Linked DNA regions of Homo sapiens: all the other regions are linked to region 1. The links are contacts of gene promoters, found by promoter capture Hi-C in blood cells and fetal thymus (Javierre and others, 2016). All regions are on one chromosome and are shown on one strand. The core of a region is centred on a gene start or on the middle of the fragment in contact, and the rest is flanking DNA. Distances in the headings are between cores, read along the strand shown.

The links. The method cuts DNA at HindIII sites, captures the fragments that hold promoters and counts their contacts. A CHiCAGO score of 5 or more calls a contact.
Region 2: a contact is called between a fragment that was not itself captured here and the fragment with the promoter of NR2F2-AS1 in region 1, in 1 of 17 cell types (endothelial precursors). The highest score is 6.0, in endothelial precursors.
Region 3: a contact is called between a fragment that was not itself captured here and the fragment with the promoter of NR2F2-AS1 in region 1, in 1 of 17 cell types (endothelial precursors). The highest score is 9.3, in endothelial precursors.
Region 4: a contact is called between a fragment that was not itself captured here and the fragment with the promoter of NR2F2-AS1 in region 1, in 1 of 17 cell types (endothelial precursors). The highest score is 6.9, in endothelial precursors.

Annotation. Positions count from the first base shown.
Region 1 is chr15:96,321,724-96,329,196 of GRCh38, reverse strand. NR2F2-AS1 (NR2F2 antisense RNA 1) reads left to right here and starts at 2,079. Exons shown (of 5, transcript NR_125738.1): 1 at 2,079-2,241. It also overlaps a transcript of NR2F2 not described here. The HindIII fragment of the contact is 16,559 bases long and covers 1,304-7,473 here.
Region 2 is chr15:95,248,138-95,255,651 of GRCh38, reverse strand. No RefSeq gene overlaps it. Among named protein-coding and RNA genes, the nearest start is that of LETR1, 75 kb to the left of the region's middle. The HindIII fragment of the contact is 5,211 bases long and covers 313-5,523 here.
Region 3 is chr15:95,300,926-95,308,575 of GRCh38, reverse strand. All of the region lies in intron 1 of LETR1 (lymphatic endothelial transcriptional regulator lncRNA 1), which reads left to right. Among named protein-coding and RNA genes, the nearest start is that of LETR1, 22 kb to the left of the region's middle. The HindIII fragment of the contact is 2,103 bases long and covers 4,960-7,062 here.
Region 4 is chr15:94,668,190-94,675,298 of GRCh38, reverse strand. No RefSeq gene overlaps it. Among named protein-coding and RNA genes, the nearest start is that of LINC02852, 82 kb to the right of the region's middle. The HindIII fragment of the contact is 1,396 bases long and covers 3,907-5,302 here.

The sequences.
Region 1 (7,473 bases), core at 830-3,329:
CTTTGCACCAAGAAAAAACCTCATGCCGGTAAACCAACCAGGTTTGTGAACAATTAAAATATTTTACACAAAAGACGCTGAGCTCCAGGAAAGAAATGAACACATATGAAGAGTAAATTGATGACCACAGAAAACATCCTTGGTAGCTGAAAAAAAAATTGACAGGGTAAAGATATTTTAAAAATAAACCATACATATAATTGACATGCATAGATCACATTTTACATTCAATTCTCTTTACACACATAGGCAGAATATGAGGTAAGGACTAAAGATCTGGGCAGATAGGGGCTGGTTTTTAGGAAAGGAAAAATCTTCTTTAAGCTTCATTCCCGAAACCTCAGCCCTCACTCTTTCTCCGATGAAATCACGTATTTCACTAAAGCTGCAGGTTCTCGGTTTATTTGAAAGTTGTTAAAAAAAAAAAAAAAAGCCCAGCAAACCTATAGTGGACACTGAACTATCATAAACCTGGTGTGTAATAAGATTGCCACAGAATGAAGCCAAGCTGAGAATTTCAGGTTAATTAGAGACACAATATAACTTTCTCCTAAAGAGGATAAGAAGGATGGAAAAGAAATCATTACACAGGAGAAGGTTTTTGGTAGTTGTTGTTGTTTTCCCTTCCAACCTCTATGATTCAGGAATTGCTAATGTTACAAATGTCAGCAGATTCGGGACAAGCTCAGCTGAGATGTGATGAGACTGGGGTTGAGATAGGAAATCTAATGGGCATTCCCATCTCAATAGAGGATGAAAATAATTGATTATAGGGAAATCTTCATCTCACCTCCTGAATGAGACTTCCATAGCAGATTACCTTTTACAAACATGGGAAGGAACAATATCGAGGAGGAAGAGCTTCCCCAGTCCACTTAGAGATTTTTGGAATTTGAAGTATGCGTGATGGCCTTAGATTAAAATGGAATAATTTCCCAACCATATCTTAACAAATTGGAGCCTGCTAGGCAAATGATCACAGGGCTGCCATAAAGTCAGGGGTGTTTCACTCTGTATTTTAGGACTCATTCAGTTATGAAATGCTGTTACAAGGGAGAAAAAAAATCACCGTATGAATTATACTTAATTTTAATGCATAGAAGAAGAGACAAGACTACAGACTGAGAAGAAAAAAGGGCAAAAATATTTTTAAATGTCTTCTCCAGAGATGCTCACTTGCTGTGCGTCTAAGGTTAAAAAGCTCTGAGAAGATAAAATCAATATATTATTGTTGTTTTTTAAAAATCCAACTCAGTCTTTTTTTGCAGATGTAAATTTATTATAATGAGAAGAATGGCAAGCTTTAATTTGCCTAGAGAAAGTTGGGACAACATTTGCCCTAATCTAAAAAAGAAAAGAAAGAAACTCAACACCCAGGAATATAATTTTCTTGCAGAAAGTGGCCTGATGGGCTGTATTTCTTTACAGATTGAATCACAATATGAATACAGACCCCAGCAAATGCCGAGTTTAACTCTGAACTCAGTAGAAACCAGTTCCGTCCTCCAGGATTCATTGAATTCCTCCTTTCCCTCAATCTAGTCCGTGTGTGTTTTTCTCTTCCACCACACTGGAGCTCCATGAATAGGGAAAGGGGCTTCCATTGTGTCCCTCTGAACTTCCAAGTCAATGCAATTTTTAACCACTGGCTTGTGGTACTTTGAAAATCACCAGGGGCTGTCAGAGTTAGGTCCTCTGAAAAATTTACAGTGCTAAATCAGAGCATATGCTGGGAGGGAAAAAATTGCTTAAGATTAGAGCAAGTACAGTATCTGTCTGCCCCCTAGTGTAAGAGTCCTCGCTGCCTAAAATTCAACTTTAAAAGAAAAGGAGCTCTTAAAGGGAAACGACTTTGGACTCACGTAGGCATAGGAGAACGAAACTTCTGTACATTTTAATCTGAATAATTCTTCAGGATTTAAAATTAATTGGCTCTGGCTTGGTTGGACCGTACTCGGATCTCGCCACCTCTGCGTTTCCCGAGTCACTGGCGAAGAGGTGATTTTTTTTTTTTTTTGAACTGGGTTTATGTGCGTCCCCCTCACCCCCTCCTCTCTTTTTCTTTCTCTCTGTCTCTGTCGTCTCTCTCGCTGGCTTTTTAAAAATGAGGAACCGCTCCTTGAATGTTCTGGACAGAGCACAGAATTGCTTCTTAAGTCAGCCCGGCGCGGTTGCAATAGACAGCAAAAAGGTAAACGTTTGCCTGAAATCCGCACGCCAGCTCCACCGCCCCGCCCGATGGTGAGTACCCTTCTCGTCGCGATTCTCCTCCTAGCTTAACCGAGCGCTCGCCTACCCGAACCGTGGCCGAGGGCGCCGGGCTAGGCTTTTCTCCCTCCCTGCCTGCCTGGCTGTCAGTTGCACAAGGTTGCAAAATGAAGCGCAGAGGCAAAGCGAACAGTAAATTCTGATACTTAGTGCGAGCCTAGCAGCTCCTTTGCTAGAAAACCGAGTCATCTGCTGCTTGCAAAACCACGCTTTATAGGACTGGTTTTTAGTTTGCTCTGTGGAAGGAAATGAGTTTGAGGAGACAGGACGAGGAGATAGGAGGCTCCGCAGTCTTAACGCTTCGGTTTAATCATATTTTGGCAGCTTTGCAATTGTATTTTCCCCCCTCCCCCTCCACCATCTCTCCTACCACACACATGTAATAAAATATGGCAATGCATTGAATTGACTCTGATCCCCCCTTCCCCGAACCCCTTAAACCACAGTCCTCGGCATTTCATACACGTTAGCAAACCGATATTTTGAAAAGCCCCAAGTCATCCCCAACCCCACACAGCACAAGCAGAAAAGTGAGAAAGGAAAGAGAGAGAGAAAAAATACTGTAAGTAAACATACCAAAACCATATTTGCCTTGTTCAAGGTCCCAAACCGCTTGCATCTTCCTCCTAAACTGGAATAACTCTCCTTTAGTTTGGCGGGTGAAATAAATGCTTTGTTGGCCCCCTGAAAAGATGTGTCTTTGATAATTAAAGAGAATCTCCTCCTCGGTGTTTATCTAAGCGATTGTGCAAACTGATAAAAAGTAGGCACTAGCCTGCAGGGAAAAAGAGGAAAGGTGAAGGGAGAGATCTTCCACCTCAAGGAAGTGCTTCCCCATGTATTAGGCTCTCTCAGCCTTGGAAAACCCTGCACACTAACTTTAGAGAGACAAGGTTTCAGGGAGCTTTGTACATAGCTGCTGAGGAATGCAAGCCTCGCCTTTAAGAAAAAAAACCCCAAACCGTAGGTAGGAGATGTCTGGAGTGATCCTTGTCTCTCATCTCATTCCTTAGAAGGAAGAGTGCGTTGTTACACCTTGTTTGGGGCTGGAAAGACGAGACTTTAAAAACACCCGTCCAATTGAAAAAAATCTCCCAACTTAATGAGTTTAGTCGGAGGCTGGAGCAAACGGCTCAGCCTCAGCAGAAAACCGCCAACAACTATAGGCGATATTGCAAAGCAAGACGACCCAAGGCACAGCCAAATTCCACTGTTTGGGGTCGAGAGAGATGGAGGCTAATCCTAAAGCAAGTTGGGAAAAAACAGAGGTGGAAGAGGAGGGGGAAAAAGCATCAGCCTCGCAGACTGGCAGACAGGCTTCCCTCGTCCTGGATCAAAGATAGAACTTGAGACAAGAGGGCAACATTTTTCCTAGGAATCCTTTGGAATCCTCATTTTCTACTTTTAACTCAAGTCTCCCCAAGTGATTTTTCCCCCTCTCCCCTGTGGATTTCTGCCTCCCCCCTTTCCGGTCCTTATTCTAGAACTTTCCTGAGGAGGAAATCTATTTCTTTTGGGGGGAGGGGTTCCCCATTCCATGCCTTCAGATAATGAATGCTTCATTCACCCCCTCCCTTTCTCTACTCCCCAAAACGAATAAAGGAAGCAAGAATACGGTAACTAGTGAAAATTGAATATAAACTATGCTGCCTCTCACAGTTTAATACTGTCTTAACTAATGGATTTTTGTTTTGTTTTGTTTTAAGAGAAGAATAATGGGGAAACACGGATCTTTTATTTTAGGAAACTGTTATGGTAAGATGTATGTCAGACTTGACAAATGGAACTAACGCTCTTCGGCTGCTTCTTGTCCTTGTCTTAAACAGGAATTAAGTTAAACACAGTGCTGAATGTTAATTACATGTTTACTGGCTAATGAAAATTACAAATGGTTTTGCCACCTCAAACAATGATGAAAACTCTGAAGACACTGTAATTATATACTTTGAGCAAAATAACTCAGAATATTGATCATAAGAAGTGTAAATCTTTTTTAACTATTCATTAATACCATAAATATGGGCTACAGAAGTTTTTCCTTGCGGTTTGTCTCATCAGTTATACTGAGTGGATGGATGGTGAGGCTCCTCTGGGGAGGAGGTGAACTCATTCTCTTAGTAGAAGGAGGCCACTTGTGTAACTCGGGGGTGCCCCCTCCCTTTCGCCCCCGCCCCCTTCATCCCCAGCCGAAGGTCGAGGAATAGTTGAACAGGAAGGCTGGACTCAGGGCAGGTGAAGATGATCACAGCCTGGCCTTTTCTCTCCCCTCCCTGCCCATCTCATTCCTCTCCCTTCTCCCTTTCCTGCCAGTTCTGATAGATGACTGCCTTCCCCAGCTCGGGCACCAGTGGGATAACCTGGCATTCGGGGGTTCCTAATGGAGGACCAGTTAGACCAAGAAACTCACCCCCACCCACAACCCAGCCGTGGAGCCCTGACAACTTCAATTCCCTCCTTCAGAGATGGCTCAGGCAGTTCATTGCAAAAGAAGAAGAAAAAAAAGTTAGGGATGGAGGTTGCTATTGGGTAAGGTGGCTCAGGCGGCTGAACCAGAACTGGTTTCCCTGGGTTTGGGAGCAGAAAAAATTTTTTGTTGTGGTTTTCTTTTAACTTTGGCCAAAGTTGTAGTGCTGGCAGCCACTCGGATCTAGGAGGTCAAAGGTGAGGGCTGCACTAACCCTAAACGGCTGTCCTGGCCTGGCTACAAGGCCAAACAGGCAGGGGAAAGGGGGTTTGTCAGCCTTGCAGCTTGGCACTTTGGAGGGGGCATCTGTGGAACCCATACTTGGGGGGCACAGCATCAAGTGTGGGTTTTAAGTGAAATATTGAGGATTTTTTTTTAAAAAAGTGCCCTAGGCTTGTGGGACTAGAGTCCTCTTTTTCCCTGAGAATTCCCAAGGCGCTGGTCTTTGTCTTAGAAGGAATGGAGTTTCTGAATGGTGTGAAAGGGACAGAGAGGGTCGCTTCAAATCGATTTTACTTGTCCTTTCTGTCTTTTCGGATCAACGCCCTTCAATGGGCACAGAGGTGCTCTTTCAACCAAAAACTTGTGCTACATTTTCTGCCTGTATTGGTGCTAAATACAATAAGCACTGGGCAGGGTTTTTTTTTTTTTTTTCTTTGCTCTCCAAAGCAAGAAAGCACCCTAATTAAATTGTTTTATATGGACAGTCAAGACGGACCAATTAAGTATGCATTAGTATAAAGATATAGTCTGCAGATAAGGTTGTTTAGAAAATCATGTGTAGGACAAAGGAGAGGGCGCTAGCATTTTGGAGAGGTGCCTAGACCCAGCAAGGTCATGCCCCTTCCTTCTTGGGCCCCAGGGGAATTGCAAAGGCCCGGGCCCCAGGTGAGAGGGGAACAAGCTCGCTAACAGGTGGGCGACATTGCCGGAGACTTTCAGGCCCGAAGCCCCGGCCCAAGAGTAGTGGAGTCCGAGGGTCGGGATTCCTCACATCTTACTCGGGCAACGTAGCAGACCGAGGTAGCGCTCCCGTAGGACGCAGCGGGACCCCGCAGTGCCCTACTCCAGGTCCACGGTGCGGCCCTGCAATAATGAAATCGTCTGCGCCCGGGGAAGGCCAGGAGGGCCAGGGGACACAGACGGTGTCACGGCCGCAGCCCTCTCACAGCCACTATCAGGGCAGGAGGCCTCCACCTAACAATTCCAAGCTAAGCGCTTTTTCTGATCTTAGGAAAGAGGAGGAGTTTTTCTGCGAGGAAAGTAACGCTTCCACCCGACGCCATCCGGCCCGATGGACGTCGAGGATCAGTCTCCAGAGTAGGAGAAAGGCCGACGGGTCGGAGAAAGGGTAGCAGGGAGAGCGGCTCGTCATCCAGCAGATGCAGCTCTGGGCTTCTCCACCCCCTCTCCTCCCTCAGAGGTGTGGGCGGGCGGAGAGCATCTCTCCTCGAAGGAGGCGACCCCCATAGCAGGGGCCGGGGCCTCCCCGCGTCGCGGCTCAGGGCTGTGATAGGTGGTCCCCGGGCCGAGGGGGCGCGAGCGCCGCGCGTTGCTGCTGGAAGGGCTCGCAGGGCGCACAGGGCAACCCTTAGTAGGGCGGGAGGGAGGAGTGCGGGCGAGAATTAGAGCCTGGGGAAGTGGCTGAATGTCAAAAGTAAAAGGTTGAAAAGCCAATTTTCCAGGCGCGCTTTCGCCCCCCTTAGCTGGTTGCAGGGGCCGTAAATCAGCGGCCGGCGGCGAGGGCGGGAGGAGCCCCCTCGGCGAGCTCGGCGCGGCCCCGCCCGGACCGTGCGCACCTCCCGGTGGGCCCCGAATCGATCCGAAGCCCAGCTAAGGATGTCAGCGCACTAAATATTTACTGATCACACACAAATAGCCGGGGCTCGAACGATTTTCCTCTGTGAGGAGAGCGCGGAGAGAAGGGTAAATCATTTTATTAGTGTGGATAAAGCCCAGAGCACACTCCGGGCTGGAGTGTTTTAAGATGTGTCTTCAACAGGATGAAAAGAGTTAGGGAAATCGATACCGAGTGATTAGAAGCCCCCGGGGTGACGAAGGGGGACTGGGCTTTCAGGGATTTGGCGAGGCCGAGAGGGGGGAGCAGGCCTCAAGGGGGGCGGCCCGACCACCGCCAGGGAGCTCCCGGCTCAGGCCTCCGTCCCTCCCTCCTCGACGGGAGACGCCAGGGCGCAGCGAGCTGCGGGGAGTCCACTGCGGCCAGGCTTCGTGGTGCCGGCGCCGGGTGAAGGCTGCGCGGGCCGCCGCGGGGCCGAGGGCTTGAGAGCCACTGGCTTCAAGCCGCGAGTGGCAGAGGCCAGGCAGCCGCGGGAGTGGATTGCAGGCGCGGTGTGGGAACGCCGGCAAGTCCCCCGCACGCAGTCTCTCCAGACAGCCTCGGGGATTGAAGGTGTGGCCTAAACAGGTTGCATTTCTCCTGCTGGCATTTCGGGTACTCCTCCCAGCCGCGACCCGATGCACCCTCGAACTTTCTCCCGGAGAAATCTCTACCCATCCTGTCTTTTAATATTTTTCAAGAGGTCTCAATGGCCCATCCCCGCCAGCTGCCTCTTCCTCCCACCCACTCGGTGTCAGGGGCGGCCGCCGGGTGGCGGAACCCGCTGGGGACTGCCGGGAGAGTGGGTTCCAGGTTCCCTGCTCGTGGGCAGGTGGGACGACATCTGAGGCCGAGGAGGAAGGCAGGGGGCTGGGTGACAGGCACCGAGGAAGCCCCAGGACGT
Region 2 (7,514 bases), core at 1,669-4,168, 1.1 Mb after region 1:
CTGGCAGTAATGAAGCGACACCCACCTTCGTCTGTGAGGATGGTGTGAGATGAAGGTAGCTAAAACAAAAGGTTTAAATAAGATTCAGAGTCTCATCATATTGAAATGTCCATATTTCAGTGGAAAATTACTCATCATACAAAAACAAGAAAGAACTAAAACTAAGTGAGAAAAGATAATAAATATATGCCAACATCAAGATGACACAAATGTTAGAATTATCTGGCAAAGCTTGTAAAGCAGCCATCATAAAAATACTCCAATGAACAATTAAAACATTCTTGTAGCTAATGAAAATTTATTTGGAAAGCTTCAACAAAGAAATAGGAAGTCATAACCAAAAATAGAAGATAAAAGAGTCAAATGGAAAATTTTGAACTGAAGAATACAATAACCAATATAAAAAACTCAATGCATGGGCAGAATGGAGGAGACAGAGGAAATATTGGTGAACTGGAGGAAACAATATAAATTGACCATCTATACAACAGAGAGAAGATAGAGTGAAAAAAAGATGAAAGGAACCTCAAAGACCTTCGAGATTATAGCAAAAAAAACCAAAATAAAACAAAACCAAAAACCAACAAACAGACAGACAAAAAATTAACCTTTGCATTCCCTGAGTCCTAGAAGACCGGAAGATGGCAGACCTGAAAAACATTCTAAGAAATAATGGCTGAAATGTGTTTAAATTTAGCCAAAGACATAAATATACAGATTTAAGAAACTGAGTGAATCCCAAATAGGATAAACTCACAGAAATTCATAGCAAGACACTCATAGTCAAACTTTTGAGAACTGAAGACAAAAAAGAAAAACAAAAAGTCAATCCAGATGTCCTTCAAGGGGAAGATGATTAAACCAACCGTGATACATGCATGCTAATAGAAAAAAAACTACTGATGCCTGGAACCACCTGGATGAATCTCTAAAGAATTATGGAGAGTGACAAAAATAATTTTAAAATGTTACATAGTATATTGTTTTATTTATATAACAACATGATTGAAATAACAAGATCATAGAAATGGAGACTCATTAGGGGTTAAGGAGGGGGAAGGATAAGAAGGAAGAGGGAGTGGCCATAAAAGGCAGCACGAAGTATCCCTGTGCCGATAGAAATATTTCTTATCTTGACAGTAGCAATGTCAATATCCTGTTTGTTACACTACAGTTTTGCAAGATGTTAGCATTGGAAGGAACTGGGTAAAAGATCACTCTGCGTTCTCTCTTACAACTGCAAATAAATCCACAATTATCCTAAAATAGAAAGTTTAATTTACAAAAACATTTCTGCAAGCCTTGTAACTCAGTGGCTACATAACTCTGGACTTAGACCCAAAGAATTTTGACTGTCACTTTAATCTCATGTAACCCTGGACAAGTATTCAGCCAGTCTGAGCCTACTTTCTTGTCAGTTAAATGGGCATAATGATAGCTACCCTACTTATTAATATTTCACCAACTGTAGTCAGGATGAAATAAAAATGAAATAATGATCAGGAAGGGCTGCTTTTTTATTGTTCTTAGGAACTTTTGTTAAAATGTCTACTAGAGATCAAGGCTCCCAACACAACTAAAGAGACATTGACACAGGAACTGGCGGTGGGCATGAAATACCTAAGACTAAATGAATGTTATGTAATCCCAGCACTTTGGGAGGCCAAGGCCGGTGGATCAGGTGTTCCAGACCAGCCTGGCCAACATGGTGAAACCCTGTCTCTACTGAAAACACAAAAGTTAGTTGGGCGTGGTGGCGTATACCTATAATCCCAGCTACTCAGGAGGCTGAGGCAGGAGAACCCCTTGAACCTGGGAGGTGGAGATTGCAGTGACCTGAGATCTCACCATTGCACTCCAGCCTGGGCGATAAAAGCGAAACTCTGTCTTAAAATAAAAGAGTGTTAACTCTTTTAACTCTAAGACTAAATGAGTGTTAAAATGAGTGCTAACATATATAGAAATTTTTACAGTCTGTCAACATAGATCAGTACAATTATTAGAAAAGGGAAATTATCTAGGTGCAGTGGTGTGTGCCTATAGTCCCAGCTGCTCGGGAGGCTGAGGCAGGAGGATTGTTTGAGCACAGGAGATTGAACTGCTGTGAGCTATGATCGTGCCACTGCATTCTAGCCTGGGCAACAGAGCAAGACCCTGTCTCTAGGAGAAAAAGAAAAAAAAGACTGAGGTTAGCCTAAGAAAAACCTTCATAATTTGCAGCGGTATTATTATTATTGTTGTTCTTAACAATAATAATAACAGAAAAAGTTTTTCTATTTTTGTAGATGTAAGAATTACAAGTACAGTTTTGTTATGTGGATGTAGTGGTGGGTATTGGTGAAGTCTGGTATTTTAGTATAAACATCACCCAAATTGTTTACTTTATACAAGAAAGGGCTTCTTATCTCTTCAAGTACCACAGCAGAAAGAACTCACTTTTGCTGGATGCTAACTGTGTGCCAGGCTCCAAGCTAAGCTGAATGCATTTTTTAATTTATAATCTATGTGTTAGTATTTTATGTGAAATCTTTAAAAGCAGGGTTCCATAGCTGAATGGCAGAGTATGTGATATTTAACAAAGCACCACTAAAGAGGAAATCCCATCTTTTATATCTTCCTCAGGCATTCAAGAGTTTCCAAGTTCAGAGGCTACAGTAAACTCTTAATCCCTGACCTCTTCAACACTCTGAAACTTCAGATATCCTCTCCTTCTCCTTTCCTTAAACATGCTAAATCTAACCTACCATCTTGGTTCTTCAGTGTCCTTTCCCTTGCTTGCTGTGCACAGCTTAAAAAGATGAGCTACACCAACAACCAGCCTCCCTGCTGTGCAGTTTTTCCTTTGCACTACCTGCTTTCTAGAGGACAATGAGTCCATAGGGCTTGGTCCTTTTTCTCTTTACAGCACCTCCCTAATACTGTGCCACTAGACTGGGAAAAGACAGAAGAGTTTGCAGCTAGATGTTGCTGTCTTCTTCTTAATACATTCCACCTCATGTATTATCACAATTTACAATTGAGGAAATGTTAGTCATCTACTGAGAACATACAGCTATGTTAGTTTAGGAGGCTTAGGAAATGTTTAATTAACAAAGAGATGACTGTTCCACATTGTGCACGAATTTGTTTTCTGTTTTCTGGTTTTTGCTATGAGACTCTAGTACAAAGAATCCATTTATTTGTTTATTCATTCATTTGTTGATTCTTTCATTTATTCATTTCATCATGCATTCATCAATGACCTAACACCTACTAATTGCAGGGCTCTGTGGTAGACTCCAAGGATATGAAGGTGAACAACATATAATCTAGAGAGATACACATGAAAACAATAAAATGAGAATATGGTTCCTGGTGTATCAAGGCGTGAAGGTGTTGTCATAACACAGAGAAAGAAGCACTTCACTATGGAGCCGTCACGGCACCTAGAGAGCGTGGGAAACTCAGATGGCTGCAAGGGCCAGGCATACAACAAACTCCCATGTTGGGGAGTACAAGGAACAGCCCTGATGAAATCTGATTGAATAAATGAATAGAAGTGGACCTAGTGTTCTAGGGTCTAGGAACATTATATGTAAGAATGATATCCTGTGGGCCCCATCTTTAACATTTAGCTCAACTGACCATTTGTTACCATATCCAATAAAACCCTCCTACCTCTCCTCATGCCACATGCAGTAGCCTCCTATTTAGTCTCCCTGTTTCCACTCTTGCCATATTTCGTCTTCTTTACTTGTCAATCAGAGGGAGATATAATGCATAAGTTCATGCAACGTCTTCACCCAATGGCCGTGACTGAGAGTTGAAGCCAAAGCCTTTATCTTTGAAAGCATGTTTTTCCTAAATAAACATTAGAATACCCTACACAGGATTTTTAAAAATATCAATGGATGGCCCCCACTCTGGATGAATTCTGCACCCCCAAATTGTGGATGATATAAGGTGGCTCTCAGGCTGCTGCCATTCCATCATCTCACTCCCTCATTATTTTACTCAACCCAATGTTGCCTTTGCACAGAGACCTTTGCTGGCCACCTTGTCCAAGCATCACTGTTCTTTCACATCTTTGCTGTTCTCATAGTACTCTTGGCAATCCACATGCTCTGTTATTGGCTAAATGTGCTTCATAGTCCATCTTTCTCTACTAGAAGATGTCTGCTAGAAGAGTTCAGGGATTTTACTTGTTTTTGTTTACTGTCCTACCCCAGTGCCTGTGAAAGTGCCTGGCACTCACGCCTGTAATCCCAGCACTTTGGGAGGCCGAGGCGGGTGGATCACCTGAGGTCAGGAGTTCGAGACCAGCCTGGCCAACATGGTGAAACCCTGTCTCTATACAAAAATTATCCGGGCATGGTGGCAGGTGCATGTGATCCCAGCTACTCGGGAGGCTGAGGCAGGAGAATTGCTTGAACCCAGGAGGCGGAGGTTGCAGTGAGCCGAGATCATGCCTCTGCACTCCAGCCTTGGCAAAAGAGTGACGCTCCATCTCAAAAAAAAAAAAAAAAAAGAAAGAAAGAAAGAAAGAAAGAAAGAAAGAAAGAAAGAAAGAAAGAAAGAAATTGCCCGGCACATAGGAGGCATTAAATAAATAAAGTATAAAACAAACTGAATTGACAATGACGAATTTAAGAAGGGTTTAACATGTTCAAGGGAAGTGGAGGGAAGTTGATTGAGAGTAGAAACAAGCAATAGGAAATGATCCAGGAAAGAGAAGAAGGCTTGGTAGAAAATAAGGAGCTAGGATATTTTTTCCCTAAGAAGATGAGGAGCCTTATTCATTTTAAACAGGAGACTTTCACAGCTAGCTTTGTTTTTTAGAAAACTCAGTCTTGCTGAATTTTGGGAGATGAGTTAGTCCAAAATTGAGTTAAGGAGACAAAAATGAAAATACCTGTTAGGAGACTCTCCTAATCCTTAATGAGAAGAAGTTGAACAAAACTATGGCATATTTCAACATATTTCAACATCAATGTATGGAAAGAAATGGAAACTGACCCACATATGGGTTTGTTTTGTCTTACTTGGTATTGGGCACAACCCTGAAGAGTGAATGGTCACTTGCAATTAAGTTTATAAGCAAGTAAGTTCACGGCTTCTCTCCGGCAAAAACTCAGGTTTGTCTTTGGGGCTCTCTCTCTATTCTGGTTAACAAATACAAATTAAGGTAGGCTTAAAAAAGACAAACTTAAAACATTTCCAGAAACCAAACAGAGGTCACTGAAGCCCCTCTAGGCCCCTTCTGTTCCCACATTCTATTCCCCAAGTGCGGCCTACATGATCCTGGTTCCTCTCCATTTATAACTTTGCCTCATAGGCCGTTCTGCACATTTCTCATCCCGATGTGAAAAAGTGCTACAGGGCGTCTGTTCAAAATCTTTTCTAATTTCTATTTATGCTTCATTGTCCTATAATCTGTTCAAAGCTGAAAATAGAACTAAGGTATGATCTCAGCATAACCTTTAGCAATTAATTTTGTTACTATTTTTTTCTAACTGAACAAACTCCTAATAAATAAGAAAAGCTTTATCTGTAAAATAACCCCAAAATAGACCTCCACCTCTTACCCTTCATCCTTCTCTAAACTTGCTAAGCCAGTATTAAGTAGAGTCTCCCCCACCCCGCCCTTCCTTCCTTCAACCCAATATTACTTTGGTTAAAGAAGTAAATCTAATTAAAGGAGCATGGGAAATGGAAGTCGTTTTGTGAGTTAGAGAAGCTGGCTCTGTGTATCTTTCACCGGTGATTGGGCTTACAAGATGGAAAATTCCATACACTGCTAAGCAAAGTGCTCTCAATGTTGTTGCAACATCTGCTTTTCTTTGTGTAAAATCTTTTCCACGGGGTGGGTGAAGATTTTTATTCTAATTGAATTTGTAGTTAATTCCAGATAAAGATAAGCCGGGGTTTTTTTCGGTTTTTGTTTTTTGCTGATGCTGCTTAAATCAGGGGTTCCAGGCCCATCCCTCAAGGCCCACTTTTACCCAAAATGAATCAAAAGGAGTAGCAGGTGCTTTGGATTAAGTGACCCTCCATTTCTTTACATTTTTAGAAAGAATAAAATACTTAGATTCACTTAATTCCTGATTTGGTCTTTTAAATTATTTGTGATAGGAGAACAAACTCTTGTTTCTTAAATGCAGTGTTTCTAACCCATTAAGCAAGGATGCGGATGGGCCTTGGTTTGAAGATAGCTTACTACCCTCTTTGAGAATATTAATGTAGTGTTAATTGATCATCATAAGAAATATGTTTATGGTCCTAAACCATTCTTAAGAAACTAAGGAGTCTGTCTTCCAATATTTGTTGCAATATTTGTTAAACAAATTAATAAATGGGTGAACAAAAGAAAGAATAAAATATAATGCCTGTGAGCCTTCCAGTGGCTTTGCCATGCCACCTACTTGATAGCCTTCTGCCTGTCACAGTGGCCTTTGGCAATGAATAATTTCCATCAGTTTATATTTTGGATGTTATGAAATAAGAGAAGACTATTCAATTACAATTACTTTTGTTTTTCCAACCAACCTTGATAAATGAATGGACCCTCATCTCCTCTCCCTGCTACATTTATTGGGGACGATAAAACAGAAAGTAAAACCAGGACCGAGAACCAGAAGTAGCTGGAATCCATTCCTGTACCCTATTAGAGTCACTTAACAAAGCTGACTTCATATTTTCTCCAGAGGGTTTGGACTCAGAGAAAGTGCGCCCCCTTCCCTCCCTAGAAGTGGGGTTGGAGATGTCCACCAAAAGCTATGGGTAAAATACATTAATGTAATCTTGACATTTTCAAAGGTATTATGTATTGTTGACATTACTGATATTGACTAACCCTTGTGAATGTTTACCATTTCTTATCACATTTAGACCCAAAGCATGGATTTGAACTTTTCCTCCTTGAGGGTTCTGCCCTGATTCTTGCAGTTGAGTTAGTTGTCCTTGATCTGGACCCTTTAATATACAGAACATATTTCTTTATCTATCATTGCACATTTTTTAACTGTTGTGAGCTTTATAGACACATTCTCTCCCCAGAAATCTGTTTATTTGGTCAATTTTAGGACAGAAGGAATATTACTAATTTATTTTTAAAAGTCACCAGATGCTCATCAATGATTTATAAATTAATGAACTCAAATAGTTGTAGAAGATTTCATAGGGAAAAAATGCATTTCTCTTATTTGGCCAATTGCAAGCCATCATATGCAATAATGAGAAATGTTGACTATGTTCGGACAAATTAAATACAGTAAGAAAAGAAAGAGCCATCTCAGAATAACGGTAGATTGATTCCAATTTTTGTAATATAGATAATATTGCAATAGACATTCATGGAAAAAAATGTTAAGTGCATTTCTGGTTATAGTTGTAATGTTCATTTCATAGAAATAAATTACTGGACCAAAGAAGGATATAAACCTCACTTTTGCACATTTTCATTAGCATTGCCTATTGCAATTAAGCATATTAATAATAGGTGAATGTAACATCTTTTTGTTTTAGCATGCTCACTC
Region 3 (7,650 bases), core at 4,762-7,261, 1.0 Mb after region 1:
CGCAGTGCTAATTCTTTCATATTTCCAAGCACATATATTCTTATACAATTATAATCCTTTGATCCTCTATGGGTGGATATAGATGGTGCATGTGATTGTGTGTGTGTTTGTGTGTGTGTGTATGGTTGTGAGTGATTACTTGTTTTCCCAAAATAGGCTATATGCTTCCTATATAAGTGTCTTCCTACTGAGTAGTTCTTCATGGGGTTCCATCTAAGTCAATTGATATGGCTCTAATTTATTCTTTTTAACTATTGCATGCTATTCCATGATATGAATGTATTATGCTTGATTCACTTTTTCTTTTTTTGTACCCAGGAAGAATGCTATGTGCTATATATATATGTTTGTTATATCACTCTTAACTATAGTATTTCAGGCTGAATAATATATACATACATACATATATATTTATACACACACATACACACACACACACACACACACACACATTCTGCATATTGCCTAAAAGAGGAAGGTGTTTATTTCTTGAGATGGATTGCTGGGAATGGAACTGCTGAGTGGAAGAATACACACACACACACTTGTGTGTGTGTATAATATGTGTGTGTATGTATATATATATGTATGTGTACGTATACCAATATATGTATACACACATATATTTTTTAAATTTACAACATGCTATCAGATTGCTTTTCCAAAATGCAAAAAAGTCTTCAGGTTTTTACAAGTGATGTATGAATGTACCCTTTTCTGCACATTTCTGCCTGCAATTGGTGATTTTTTAAAAAAAAAAATTGCCAACTTGATGGATGTAAAGTGATACTTCACTGTTTTGGTGCTTTCATTTTCCTGCCACCAAGTGAGTTTGACCATCTTACTTGCTTGTGGGACATCTAAATTGGCACTTCTGTCGACTGTCTCCTCACAACCCGTGCTAACTCTTCTATTGGGCTGTTCACCTCCATCCTGGCATACGTTAGCTATTAACCCTTTTTCTCTATTACTTTTATATTTTAAAAATCTTTGTTTTAGCAAAAAAGACAGAAGATTAAAGGATCTGAAATTCATTCAACGATAAAAGTGCTTAAAACATTCTATCTTGGAGAGATTTACATTTTAATTGGTAGCAAGCTTGAAAAGAAAAGAATGAAGATCTTGGATACTTCTAATCATCAAGGAAAGGGTACAAATCAAACTGCTCTGATGGCCTGATTTGCACTTCTTCTACAGGTATTGAATTTGCACACTGTAGTGTTTGGTTACATAACAATGCGGAAAAGCTGAGTATGCTTCTCACTACTTTAAGTACTTCATATAAGTGGAATCATAACGTATTTGTCTTTTTGTGACTAGGCTATTTTATTTAGCGCAATGTCCTCAAGATTAGTTTGTGTTGTAGCATATGTTAGAATTTCCTTTCTTCTTCAGGCTAAATAATATTTCATTGTATGTTGCCATGGACTGAACATTTATGTCCACCGAACATTCCTGTCTTGACGCTCTCCTCCCAATGTGATGGTTTGGAGGTAGGTTCATTGGGAAGTAACTAGATAAGGAGGGTGGAGCCCTCATGAGTGGGATGGTGCCCTATAAGAGGCCAAAAACATAACTAGCTCTCTTTCAACCAAGAGAGAACACAGCAAGAAGTTGGCTGCCTACAACCCAGTAAAGGGCCCTCACCAGAACCTGATATGCTGGCAGCTTGATCTCTGACTTCCAGCCTCCAGAACTGTGAATAAATTTCTGTTGTGATATTCTGTTATAGCAAATAAAACTAACTAAGACATATCTATGTAACACATTTTGCTTATTCATTTATCCATCAATAGACACCTGGGTTGCTTCCACATTTTAGCTATTGTAAATTATGCTGCTGTGAACACTGATTTGAACCCATTTTTTCAGGACCTTTTTCTCAATTCTTTGAAGTATATACCCAGATGTAGAATTGATGGATGATATGGTAATTCTATTTTTAATATTTTGAGGAACCACCAAACTGTTTTTCACAATGGCTGTATCATTTTACATTGCCACCAAGAATCTATAAGAATTCCAGCTTCTCCACATATTCACCAATACTTGTTATTTTCTGTGTTTTTCTTTTTGATATTAGCCATCCTGTGGGTGTGGGATCGTATCTCATCATGTGCTTATTTGCCATTTGTATATCTTCTTTCAAAGGACCTTTTGTTACAAGGTTGCCACAGGCTTGTCCCCACAAAAGGAGCTGCTATTCAGGGATTTCTTTGTCTGTTTGTTTGTTTGTTTGTTTGCTTGCTTGCTTGTTTTTTCATGAGATGGTTTCTTGCCCTGTCATCCAGGCTGGAGTGCAGTGGTGCAAGCAGCCCCAAACTCCTGGATTCAGGGGATCCTCCCATCTCAACCTCCTGAGTAGCTGGGATTGCAAGCACACATGATCAGGCCTAGCTAATTTTCTTTTACTTTTATTTTTTTGTAGAGACAAGATCTCCCTTCATTTCCCACGCTGGTCTCAAACTCAAAAAGTCAGTGACAACAAGAGGTCTATGGGCAAATACTCTTCTTAATCTCTATGTCATCTGGCCATTGGTGCCTAATGTGGTCCAAATGTAGGCTCTATCACTACTTGAATAAACTTGGACAACTTAGATATGATACTTACCTTATAGGATGAACCTTGACTTGCTTTTCTGTAAGATTAGAAAAATACCTCCAGAAGCTGTTAGTAGGATCAAGCATTAAATGTACATGAAATTATTTTGAAATGTCTTTAAAACAAAGAAATGCTACTACTTTGACAACTTATCAGACAAGGCCAAATTTCATTCTGTGAGCTGGTAAGACCTGAAAAGTAATCATTCAACCCCTTGAATTGAATGAGTGAGAAAAAGATAGCAATTTAAGTTCAGTTCCTTAAATATGTTTACACATTATAGAAAGCTCTGCTTCAGTAAAGCTGTCAGACTTGGCTGTGCTAGGATGGTCCTACTGAAAGGGTACGATTCCTAAGATAAGGTTTCGAGCAATCAAATCTGCTCCCATTCCCCCATCCAAAATTTCCAAAAGCACAGATGAACTACTGGCCAGTGAATGCATGGACAATCAGCCTTTTATAGATGAGAAACGAGGTCCTCATGGGGGTGACAGGCAGTCAGAGCTTTGGCCAGAACCCCTAAACATGGCCCACGTCGTTCTCTGTACTTCCTCCTTATGATAGACAGGTGCTTTTTGTACCCAGAAATATTGTTTCTGCCATTTGCATTGTATTTTTTAAGGCTGGGATATAAGTAATAGAATTAAATCCGTTGGTAGGCAAAGTGTGCTATGAATTGTGGCAGTTTTCTGAAGAATTTAAGCCAAGAGGATATTTTTGGTTTGACTAAGTAATATAATTCAGGCCAAAATGGCTTCCAAATTTGAATTTCCAAAAACAGTGATAGTTCACCACTTCACTTGGCTGACACAGAGAAGGCGATCCCAACTTCTAAGATGAAATGAAACTTCTAGGAAAAATCAAAATCAGCCACTACATTTTATCTCTGGAGGGCATGGGAGGAAGAGGCAAGATAGGGATCATTACAACGTTGTAATCTGTTAGTCATCCAAAAAAAAAAAAAAAGAAAGAAAGAAGGGAAACGTTTTCTCTATGTTCTATAAATTCTATTCCAGCTGCATAAACTGCACTAGAACTGAACACAGCCTCCACTAAAACAAAATTTTAAAACAACAACAACAAAAAACTCATAAATGAGCTGGGGACCACTTTAATGGCAAAGTGGTCATAAACCAGTGTGTTGGAATTTCATCAATATGACATCATTCCCAATGTGACATGGGAGAGCCCACCCTCCATTTCCCTTCCAACTATCCCTCTCACACGCCCCCTTTCCTCTTAAAGAGATGATGAAGCTGCCTGCGCAGCACAGAAGGATAATAAAAACCTGTATCCCTTAAGCTGAATTCAGCCCAATGAACTGCACAAACAGCAATAACCAAAACAAAGCTAGCAGGAAACGTTTGCACACAGCATCTGTTATGATCGCATAACCACGAGACAGCTGTTTAATCCCAACTGTTAACATAAGATCATTTGTGTGTTTGAAGAGCGATCCCATTTGGATTTTCCCCTTTATTTATTTATTTTCTAGCTTTTCCAAGAGTGAGACTTTCTCAGCTGTAGGATGCAATTTGTGTTTCTGGTTTTTTCCACTTTCACCCTCAGCTTCCGAATGAGAGGGGTGGTGTGGTTTCTTAACTATAAATACTCAGAGGGGAAAGAGGACGGCTGTGTGGTCTCCTAGCTGAGCAGGGCACAGCCCTTTCTCAGCCTCCGGGGCCGGCTTTCTGCTCCCCAGAACATTCATAAACCATTCTGGTCAGATTATGGGAAAAGGCCCTCACATGAAACGCATCTGGTGGTCTCGGCCAAATTCTAGTGAAGCTGAGTTTTCTCAGCACCACCCAGGATTGGAAGCAATCCTTGTAAAGTTCAGTTCCAAAACGCGAAAACAAAGTCATTAGGCTCACAATTGCTGTGAAAAGGTCAATGAAGGATGTCAGCAGTTTGGGTGGCCTGTGTGAGTGCCCACATTGGAAGCCTGAGCAGGACACCTAGATAACTTATGATGGTGAGGGCTATGATCAGACTTTCTTTTTTTCCATTTACATCGCAACTCGCTGCCTGCAGGCTCCCCAAATGTTCAGTAGAGAATATGCATGCTTTACTGTTGAATTGCAGCCAACGTGTCACACAAGTGGCTGATGACAGTGACAAGCAGTACAGAGCTGCCCATGTGGTCCTTGGGCGAGAGGAATTGGCCATGAAAATTTGGACAAGCATTAACCTTGAAAGCTGCCTGAAATTAGCATTACATAAATCTTTCTTCACATCCTCCATCTTTTAATATTTCATCCCAGCAAATCCTCCATTTTGATCCCAACAGGATGATAACATGTATAATATTAAGTTTATCTTTCCAGGAAAAATGAAGCTCAAGGCCTTCTAAAGCTTGAAAGTGAATGTCTTAAACCTGATTCTTAGGGCAAGTTCATTTCTGGGTCATATGAACCTTGGGAATAAAAGGGACTTTTCACTTCTCACTCATTTTCCGTTATAACTTTTTAAAAATATAAATTGTTTAAGAGAAACTTACATCTCTTTGAAATGAGAAATATCACGATAATAGTTTCTGAATGACCTCTGAATTTCTCTTAAATATAAGAACTTCTTTTATTCTCTCTGGTGGTCCCACCTCCTCAAAATTATTGCTCTTTGCTCCATCTCTTTCCCCATAAAGAAAAATTATACACAATTTTTGTATGATTCTATTTTGTATTTTCTATGGAGACTGTCATGGATATTAATTTCCTGAGATTTACTAAGAAATACAAAATCTATCAGTGGGGGCAATCGTCAAAAAATTCAATGTTTAGGTCAGTCTATGGCGTAATTTCTTATCATACTGAGATAAAATTTTTTTTTACTTTTAGCCTGGCATTCTTATCACATGCAAAACAGTTTGCATCCCATAGCAAGGAGAGTGAATGACCGTGGTCCCCTTAGATTATGGACATCCACCTTAATGTTCAACTTCCCCTACACGGGACAAAATCACCAACATCTTTAATGAGAGAAAATCCTTTATCGACTGATTCATTTCCATGTTTTGTTTCTGCAGCTAGACGGGATATCCTGTAAGGTGGTGAAAAGGGAGGGAAATTTAGTACTATCCGTTTGTGATTTGCCATCATCATTACTATTATTATTATTTCTACTCTCAAGTTAGTATTATGTTTATCTACTGATTTTCATATATAAAGTCTGTCTTTGGTAAATTCTTTTTCCTTCTCTCCCTTCCCTTTCTATATTACTTCAGAATTACTTTTGGCAGGATTTGGAGAAGAGTTTATCTTTGCTACATAAAAAAGTCATATCTTTTAATATTTGCCACTTTTGTTAAAACTAAATAATCAATTAGTTATTATGTACTCTGAGTTACTGAGTGAAAACCGTAGTTAAATTTACTGGCTTTATTTAAGCATAGGGCCAGTTGGGAAAATAGTTTTGAATGATTTTAAAAGAAGAGGAACTACCTATCCAAGCTGGAGAGAGAGAAATCCCAGAGTGTGAGTAAGCACAGAGAAGTTACAAGTGTCTCTTAGATGCTCACTAGTCGGCAAAAACCAGGAAATACATCTCCTACTGTTTTGTGATCACCCCTGGTTACTGTCGTAACAGGAAGCGTAAATGAGAGGCAGATGATGTGAGAACAGGACTTTCAACTGGGCACCAAGCCTTTCACATACCACACCCACCATGATACTTACCTTGGCAAAAAGATCCCAATTAGTCTACCACACTCATGCTTGAAACCAGCCACATTTACTTCTTATTATTATTTTATATGTATGTATGTATATATTTATTTATTTATTTTTGAGACAGAGTCTTGCTCTTGTCACCCGGGCTGAAGTGGTATGGCACGATCTCCGCTCACTGCAACCTCTGCCTCCCGGGTTCAAGCGATTCTCCTGCCTCAGCCTCCTAAGTAGCTGGAATTACAGGTGCTCGCTGCCACACCCAGCTAATTTTTGCGGTTTTAGTAGAGACAGGGTTTCACCATGTTGGCCAGGCTGGTCTTGAGCTCCCAACCTCTTGATCCACCCGCCTCGGCCTCCCAGTGTGCTGGGATTACAGGCGTGAGTCACCGTGCGTGGCCTATTATTTTTTAATATCTTACACTTTTTATTGAGATAAAATATACAGATACAGTATACCGTCTCTACCATTTTTCAGTGTACAGTTCAGTATTTATGTTCGGTTTTTTTTCCCATCATCCTTCCATCCCCCTTACCCTTCCAAGCCTCTGGTAACCACCATTCTACTCTGTCTTCATGAGATGCACTTTTTTCATTCCCACATATGAATGAGATCATGTGATATTTGCCTCTCTGTGCTTGGCTTGTTTCACTTAACATCATGGCCTCCAGTTCCATCCAGGTTGCTGCAAATTACAAGATTTCATTTTTTGTCTAGATTATGCAGATCTCTTGCCTTTTTGTCAAATACAAAATGCTACATGTCAAGGTAGCATACATCTTTGAAACAAAGCTTGAGGATTTGCCTATTATATACACTTTAGTGTTTCACAGACCCTAAGACCGGTCTTGGCAAACAACCACTCATCAACAAATTATGATCTTAAAAACAAGCACATTGGAAGTGAGGATAGGTAGAAAGAAAATTGTTCAACATCACCAGGGGGAGAAAAGCACTGAGAAAATTAACCAACTCTGAATGAACCAAAGACTTTGTTTTGCAAGGTAGATGGTCCCTGTGCTTCGATCTACTTATTTTTTGCATAATATGACTCGTAGAATGGCAGTCTGCTCTCAAATTAGTCATTTTGAAAGTAAGAAACAAATACATGAGCAAACAATCAGCCAAAAAATACCCTAAGTAAACAGACAATGGAAATGTGGGCTTAGGAATGTGGACAGTGTACCAGTAGGAAACCCTTAGTCCTGCTAGTCTGCAGTGCTAGGAAATGCCTCACTCTGCATTCCTTGGCAGTACGATCCATCCTTTCCTGGCAAAAGTCTTTCTCTCCCTTCCTCACCAGATTATAGTTCCTACATCCAATCCACCTCCTGCCTGTCCCCGGGATCCCTGATTTTTCCTTATGGGTCCTATGTCCTATA
Region 4 (7,109 bases), core at 3,355-5,854, 1.7 Mb after region 1:
TGGACATTTGAGTCCATGAGCTGAGAGGTCATGGAAATTCCTTCCTGCTCTGACCCAGGCTTCTCCTGCAGGGTTGAATATGGCCATTGCGGCATGCTTGTCATTTTGATTTCTCTTTCTTCTGGAATAGCATTAAGACCTTTTTTCAGATAGGCTCCAGTGAGGTGCCATGTGCTGAGTCTGGGGCCTGCTATACTGGATTTCCACCAACAAGGGCCAGATTCTCTCTTCGTTAAGATTTTTGGCTTTCTGGACACCAGCAGGTGGATTCTTACATGGAAGGACAGATTTTGCCAGGGTAGGACATGCATGATGTGGCTGGTGGGACTGAAGACCCTGTGGGCATTGATGAAGGCAAGGATGGGCTCAAACACCATCCGAAACCCACACAGATCCACACCAGGTCCCAGCCCTGGACCAGACAATGCAGCAGCCAAATTTTAAAACTTAGAGTCCTAAAACGACATGATTGTTTTTATACATCCAGGCACATCCCTGAATGGGGAGAAAAATGCCAAGTAAGGGGACAATCTTCCCTGCCATTATCACCTCCCTTCATCTGCTCCAGGCCCGAGCTGCCCGGGTTGCCATGGTGATGCAGGGCTGACCTCTCACTTTTTACTCTTCCAGGAGCTAAAAAGGTAAAAATGAGCCATTTGGTAGCAAATGAAAATCAACCTCCTTCAGTTAAAAGATGTTGAATTGCTTTCGCTTCGTCAAACTTAATGTTCCGTAGCCAAGTTAAAAAAAAAAAAAAAGTCAAAGAAGAAGGAGAGGGGGAAGAGGAGGGGCAAAACGGAAGAACGCAAGCAAGAGAGCTCAGAAGCAAGCGGAGATGTTGGCTGGAGCAGCAGTGGCGACTGCAGCAGAGAACAGGGATGGGCATCAGTGCCGGAGGCATCAGACCAGCCTTCAGCAACAGCTTTCTCAGAGCTCACAATTGGGTGCTGAGCCACTTCCTTCGACTTGCCCGGCCTTGTTGGTGCTGGCTCCAGCTCTTTCTCCCTGCTTGTCTCTTTTACTCGCTTTGCAATGGTACCTGGTGAAGCTGGATTGCTGGCTTTTACTTTTCATGTGCAGAGAAATTGGGTCAGGAAATCAAAATATTGATTGAACCCGATTGCGGTAGCTGTTCTAGAAGAGATTTTAGGGGAAGCAAATTACATTCTTTTAACATTATTCAGCCCGTGATTAGGCATGTGCCCCATGCATGAGCCAGGAGAGCGCATTCGTTTGCTGTGATTAATATCCCAAAGTGGCTTTCTCCAGTAACCCAGGCTGCCAGGAACTTGACCACTCAGAGCCTAGCCAGCAGGACCACCCAGGCCAGGGATGCCCCCTGTCCGATTACAAGCACAGGTTGGGCAGGTGCGAGAGCAGTGCAGGGTGGCTGTGGGCGGCCAGCCTGGTTGTGCTTGGGAGCAGGAAGCATCTTGCCGCCTGTTTCTGGCTTTCTGATGTGTGGCAGGGAAGCTGGATATTTGCCCTTTTTCCTCTTTTCTCTTTTTGCTCTTGGTTGATAGAGGACGGTCTCAAAGTCTATCCACCTGCACATCATGTGCAAAGACAGCCGGGGTTATACTTTGGCTTCAAATGATTCATTGGGATTCAAGTGTCTAAGCACGTGGGCTAGAGCTGTCAAACCATCTTCTACATGTGAATTACCCTTAATTATAACTTAGGTGAGAACTACCGATTTATCACTCCCAGACTTGTTTTTAATCCTTTAACTTCTGGAGTTAAACCATTGGATAATGGCAATACTACAAAAAATTAGAAAGAGTAAGAGTAGTTATGGGGAAGGCAACTAATTCTTTTTTTTTTTTTTTTTTTGAGATGGAGTCTCTCGCTGTCGTCCAGGCTGGAGTGCAGTGGTGCGATCTCGGCTCACTGCAAGTTCCGCCTCCTGGGTTCAAGTGACGTTCCTGCCTCAGACTCCCGAGTAGCTGGGACTACAGGCACCCGCCACCACACCTGGCTAATTTTTTTTGATCCGCCCGCCTTGGCCTCCCAAAGTGCTAGAATTACAGATGTAAGCCACTGCGCCCGGCCAAAGGCAACTAATTCTTATCAGAAAGATGTCTTCACAATGTCTTGGAGCAAAACCCTAGGTTTTTTAAGAAGTACTTTAGAAACCTCATGGGCAGGTCAGGGGTCAAACACACAGAAAATTCACTAGCGATCAGTTTCAATAAGTCCAACATGAGAATAAACAAAACCAGGCTATTAAGTGATAATATGGAGAGAAAAATAATGGTGCCCAGATTGATTCATTCATTCAAAATATCTATATTCTTTAGTCGTATTTCTTCAAATACTGATAGTATTTGGCAAATACCTGCTAGTTTGTTTAATAATCCTAGGTCTTATTTATATCATCAGCTTCCGGTGGTCATAAGATTTGCAGAAAGAGCCTTTCTCTGTTGGATTCATAATACGTCCTGGATTCTACCTGAAATCCTTGTCTCTGAAATGTTGGAAGAGACCCTCTTTCATGCCCCCTGCCCCGACCTGGCCACAGGCGCGTACACCTGGTCCATATTCTGTAATGAGGTCTCAGTGGTCATCTTATTCTCAGGGCCCATCGAAAAATTGCATGCTCTGAAGACAGCATAGTTGCATCAAACTCTTTAACTGGCTGGCATTTTGAAAGTTTAAAGGGTTAATGCTCCTAAGAGAAGAAGAAAACACCACGCGTGCGTTTTGATCTGAGGTTCAAAACATACACGCAGATGAAAACGGCCAGCCTCATCGCTACACACAATCCCTTTCTCTGCCTCCCAGTCCCTCTCCTTCCCTCTCCACAATCTTACAGATCTCAGTACGATTAGAGAGCTGCCGATAAGAGAATGGCCATTGGTATTCTATGGTTTCAGTGTAGTCTGAAAATTAAATCCCTATGAAAATAATATATCTCTTCTCCTCTCCCCTACCCCCTCCTCCCTAGAAGCAGCTGCTTTTCACATTTAAATGTAGCAGTGGTAACAAGAGCCTCTTTTATCAGCTACTCCTATTCATAAGGCATTAAAATACACGCCGTTTCCTAATCCCTAGTGCAGCTCTAACAGGGGCTTCAGCTTTGTGCTGAAATAGCACGTATCTTTTAAAAGTAGCTGATGGAAATCATCTTCCAAACCGAATCAGTCTCTTAAAAGCAGCTCTCCCCAAGCACAGAACATAAATAGAGTCCAGGACACAGTGTGTGTCCAGCTCCCCTCTCCACTGTAAAGGGTTTGGGAAACAATGGCTGAGTTTGTTTATAAGTAGCCCAAGCGACTTGGCAAGCTGCTTCCCTCCTCTCTCTTCCCTCCCACCCCAGATCCCATACCCATCTTTACAGCAGCACCAGTTGCAGCGCCTCTTCTGGGAAAGGCATTGCTACTTCTGTGTAAGCCAATAGGCATTTGCTGAGCAAGGTCACTTTCAGAGGCAGCTCTTTCTGGAGGCAGCATCTACAGGAACGGTGGGCCAGGGGCTGGAGGCATGGATCAAATAGAAAATCACCTGGATTCCTGGTTAATCCACAGGCCTCAAGAGGAGTGCATGCGGGGCTGGTGAATTCCATAACCATGAGAGAGCTATTTTGTAGGCAGGTAGCTGATAGAAATGTACACAGCCATATGACACATACGTATATATATATAGTTTACATATAAACACAAGTATACACATATTTGTCCGCATCAGACAGTACTGATTCCCTGCACAATCACCTAGAAATAGCATTAGAAGCACTATTAACACAGAGGGAACATTTCAAATACAAACAAGAATAAGTAGCCTGAATTATGGTTAACTCTTGTGGCTATCGTTTTATTGAAATTACGTCCTGAAATTAACTTTTTCTTATATGTTAAAATTAAGGCTGGCCCTTTAAAAATAATTTATTTTTTGAATACTCAAGCTTTCATTCCGATATATCTGTTTTTCTATTTTCAGTAAATTAGGGGGTTTCTAGTCTCTGGTTTTATTACTAATAAAGAAGAGAAAAAGGTAGCAGAAATGTTTGTTGTATTTTGTGTTCAGCTTTATGTTTATTTTCTTTCAACTGCTTATAGAAGAGATCTCAGGAGGAAAAAAATACATCACATTCTTCTAACATTGTTTTACTCAAAGTTTTATTTTAGAAGTGTAATTATTTTTTTCTCATGGTAAGTAAGTGTTGCTAGAAGTGTTTTGGAATTTTAAGTTCCTCTGGCAGATATCTGTTTTTCAATTGCTGTGAATCTTTTTTTTTTCTAATTCTCTCTCTCTTCTTGATTTGAAACTGAAGTGCTGATGAATGTTCTTTGCCTTGTACAATAGATATCTTTTTACTTATAAAATGCCACAAAGTTATAAATTAGGAGGACTATCTACATGATAAGATTTTCTCCCTCCCTCATGTGCCAGCTAAATGTTGAAGAAGGCTGATAGGAACAGAAATAACATGTTCAAGGGAGAAATAATCCAAATAAATATATACCTTCATTTCATCTCTTTTGAAGAAAGTGTCCATCTCACCAAGGTTGTAAGGTTTTTAATAAAAGCAGAAAACTCTTCAGGTAATTATAAACGCCCTTTAATACTATTAAAGGAAAACGTAATTCCAATCATTGAGATTTATTGGAAATCTTACTTTCTGAGGCAGTGGCAATTATCTCTGAATCATGGAACCTGACTGCCCTCTTCTGGTTATAAACAGAAATAGGAACAGCCTGGAAGAATTCTATCACTGACAATAGGGTTATGTCTAGGAAATCTACGATAATAAGGAAATGTCCACATTCATATTAGAATCTGTGCCTGACAGGAATTAGAAACTGAATAATCTAACTTCCTCATGGCCCAGAATACAATGCTTTCTAATTGTTTTTTGACAGCAGTTCTGACTTTTGTACTATTTTATTTTATGTTTGGAGCCCTCAAGTCAGACCCAGGTGTTCAACTAAAGCTAAAGTGAAGAGCAGTAATTACTTTAAAATGTCCACAACTTTTTGAAAAACTGATATTAAGGGCAGCCAAGCATTCATAAATATTGCATTTGGGTTGGAGAAGAAATTCACTTTTATCAAAAGCTCAAAAAGTAATAATTGTCAATAATTAACTAGACTATATTTTAGAGATTAAAAGGTAACATAAAACTTTTCTCATATAAAATTAAACATAATGAAAATAACTATTATGTAATGCCATAATTACATGGGATCTCACTGGTTACTCGATAGAATGATCAATTGAGTAATCTTAGATCCATCCATTTTCTCCCTTAATCTGTATTAGGTGACATGATTTTCCATGTTCATACCATAATTAAAAAGCTTTGAATTTCTTTCTTTTTTTCCATTTTACCGCTGAAAAATGGTATAATGAATTCGGGATGATTGATAATTCTAGATAGAGGATCATTAAATGCCAACAGAAAAAAAAATTATGTTCAATTATAATTGTGATACTACGTCAAACAGATAGAGGAAATCCTAATTCTGAGCTCTATTAAAATGCACTTATTTCAATTTCCAGTTGCTATGTATGTCCTATTAGCAGCCTGACATTTTGAGTAGTACACTAATTCATATGAATTGGGTTTGAAATGAAAGCTTTCAAGTCAAGCTTTATGGAACACTGAATGTGCGATAAGCCCAGAATTAGCAAGAGAATGAGGTGATACTTTTTCGCCAAGTGAGCTTCTTGTATGAAGGCACAAAACCCGAATGCTCCGAATTATAAAATGCTTTAATTTCAAGGACCTCGCCCATAAGTAAAGCACACGTCGATTTTTCTCTGGAAACCTATTAAGTAGTTAGAAGCAGATAAAATTCTAGTCTGCAATTAGAAAATTAAAGGTCAGAGGTTAAGTGTGTGCCTTGCCAGGTAGGTCTCAGATGGATCTCCACCTGTCAGGTGTCAGGGTTGGGAACACATTTCAAAAGATCACACAAAGTGGGCTAAGAATACATGTAACTGGGCAAAGCTTACATCAGGCCAAGCGTAGCAAAAAGAAAGCAAGGCCCCCCCCGGTTTTCTAGGTGTCCCCTAGAGAAGCTGTAGGACTTGCAGTGGGATTCTGTGTTCCAGTGACCATTCCATCCTCCACAGCTCTGCCCTCCATCCTGCCTCATGTAGGTCTCCTTTCTTTCTTTCTTTCTTTTTTTTTTTTTTTTTTTTAAGACTGAGTCTTGCTCTGTCACCCAGGCTGGAATGCAATGGTGCCATCTCAGCTTACTGCAACCTCCGCCTCCTGGGTTCAAGTGATTCTCCTGCCTCAGCTTCCCGCATAGCTGGGATTACAGGTGCCCACCACCATGCCCAGCTAATTGTTGTTGTTGTTGTTTTTTAGTAGAGACAGTGTTTCATCACGTTGCCCAGGCTGGTCTCGAACTCCTGACTTCAAGTGATCCGCCCGCCTTGGCCTCCCAAAGTGTTGGGATTACGGGTGTGAGCCACCTGGTGCTCAGCCCATGTAGGTCTCTTTTGACAGGGCAAGGGTAAGAAGAGCCTTGAGGAGGATGGGGTGGGCTGGTCATCCTCAGGCATCAGGCTCTTAGGGGCCTGCACTTTGCAGTTGTCAGGGAATGCTGGCTGTGCACACCTGGAGAACTCAGGTAGTAAGGTATTGCAGTCCCCTGTGTGAGGAAGAGCCCTTTCCTGCTAAGAGTAAGAGCTGCTGTTTCTGGCTAGCTTGTTGTCCAGGCAACCCAGAATGGGCCCCCAAGGTCAGGTTTGGCCAATCCTGCTCAGGCACCTGATTGCATTAATAGAAGAGCACTGCACTAAGGGTCAACTTCTTACAGAGCTCTGCCGTTTTGTGATCACAAGAGAACTACTTCTCCTTTACCTCAGTTTACTCATGTATAAAACAAGGAACTGGGACCCCATGCCTTCTAAGGTAACTTTTTGGTTCCAAACACATACGCTGTCACTTGTCACTTTCATAAAACTATAACATTAAATGAGGTACCAACCATCTTCATGAGCAAAGGATATCAATTAGTGGTGTGACAAAAATATAAAGAGTTATGAAAAGTTTTACATCAATTTTCCCCCCTCAGGTACTGAGTAGTACAAAGCAAATGCAAACCGTTACATTTTATGGCTTGCTCACTTATGTAATAAATCTGGCATGACCT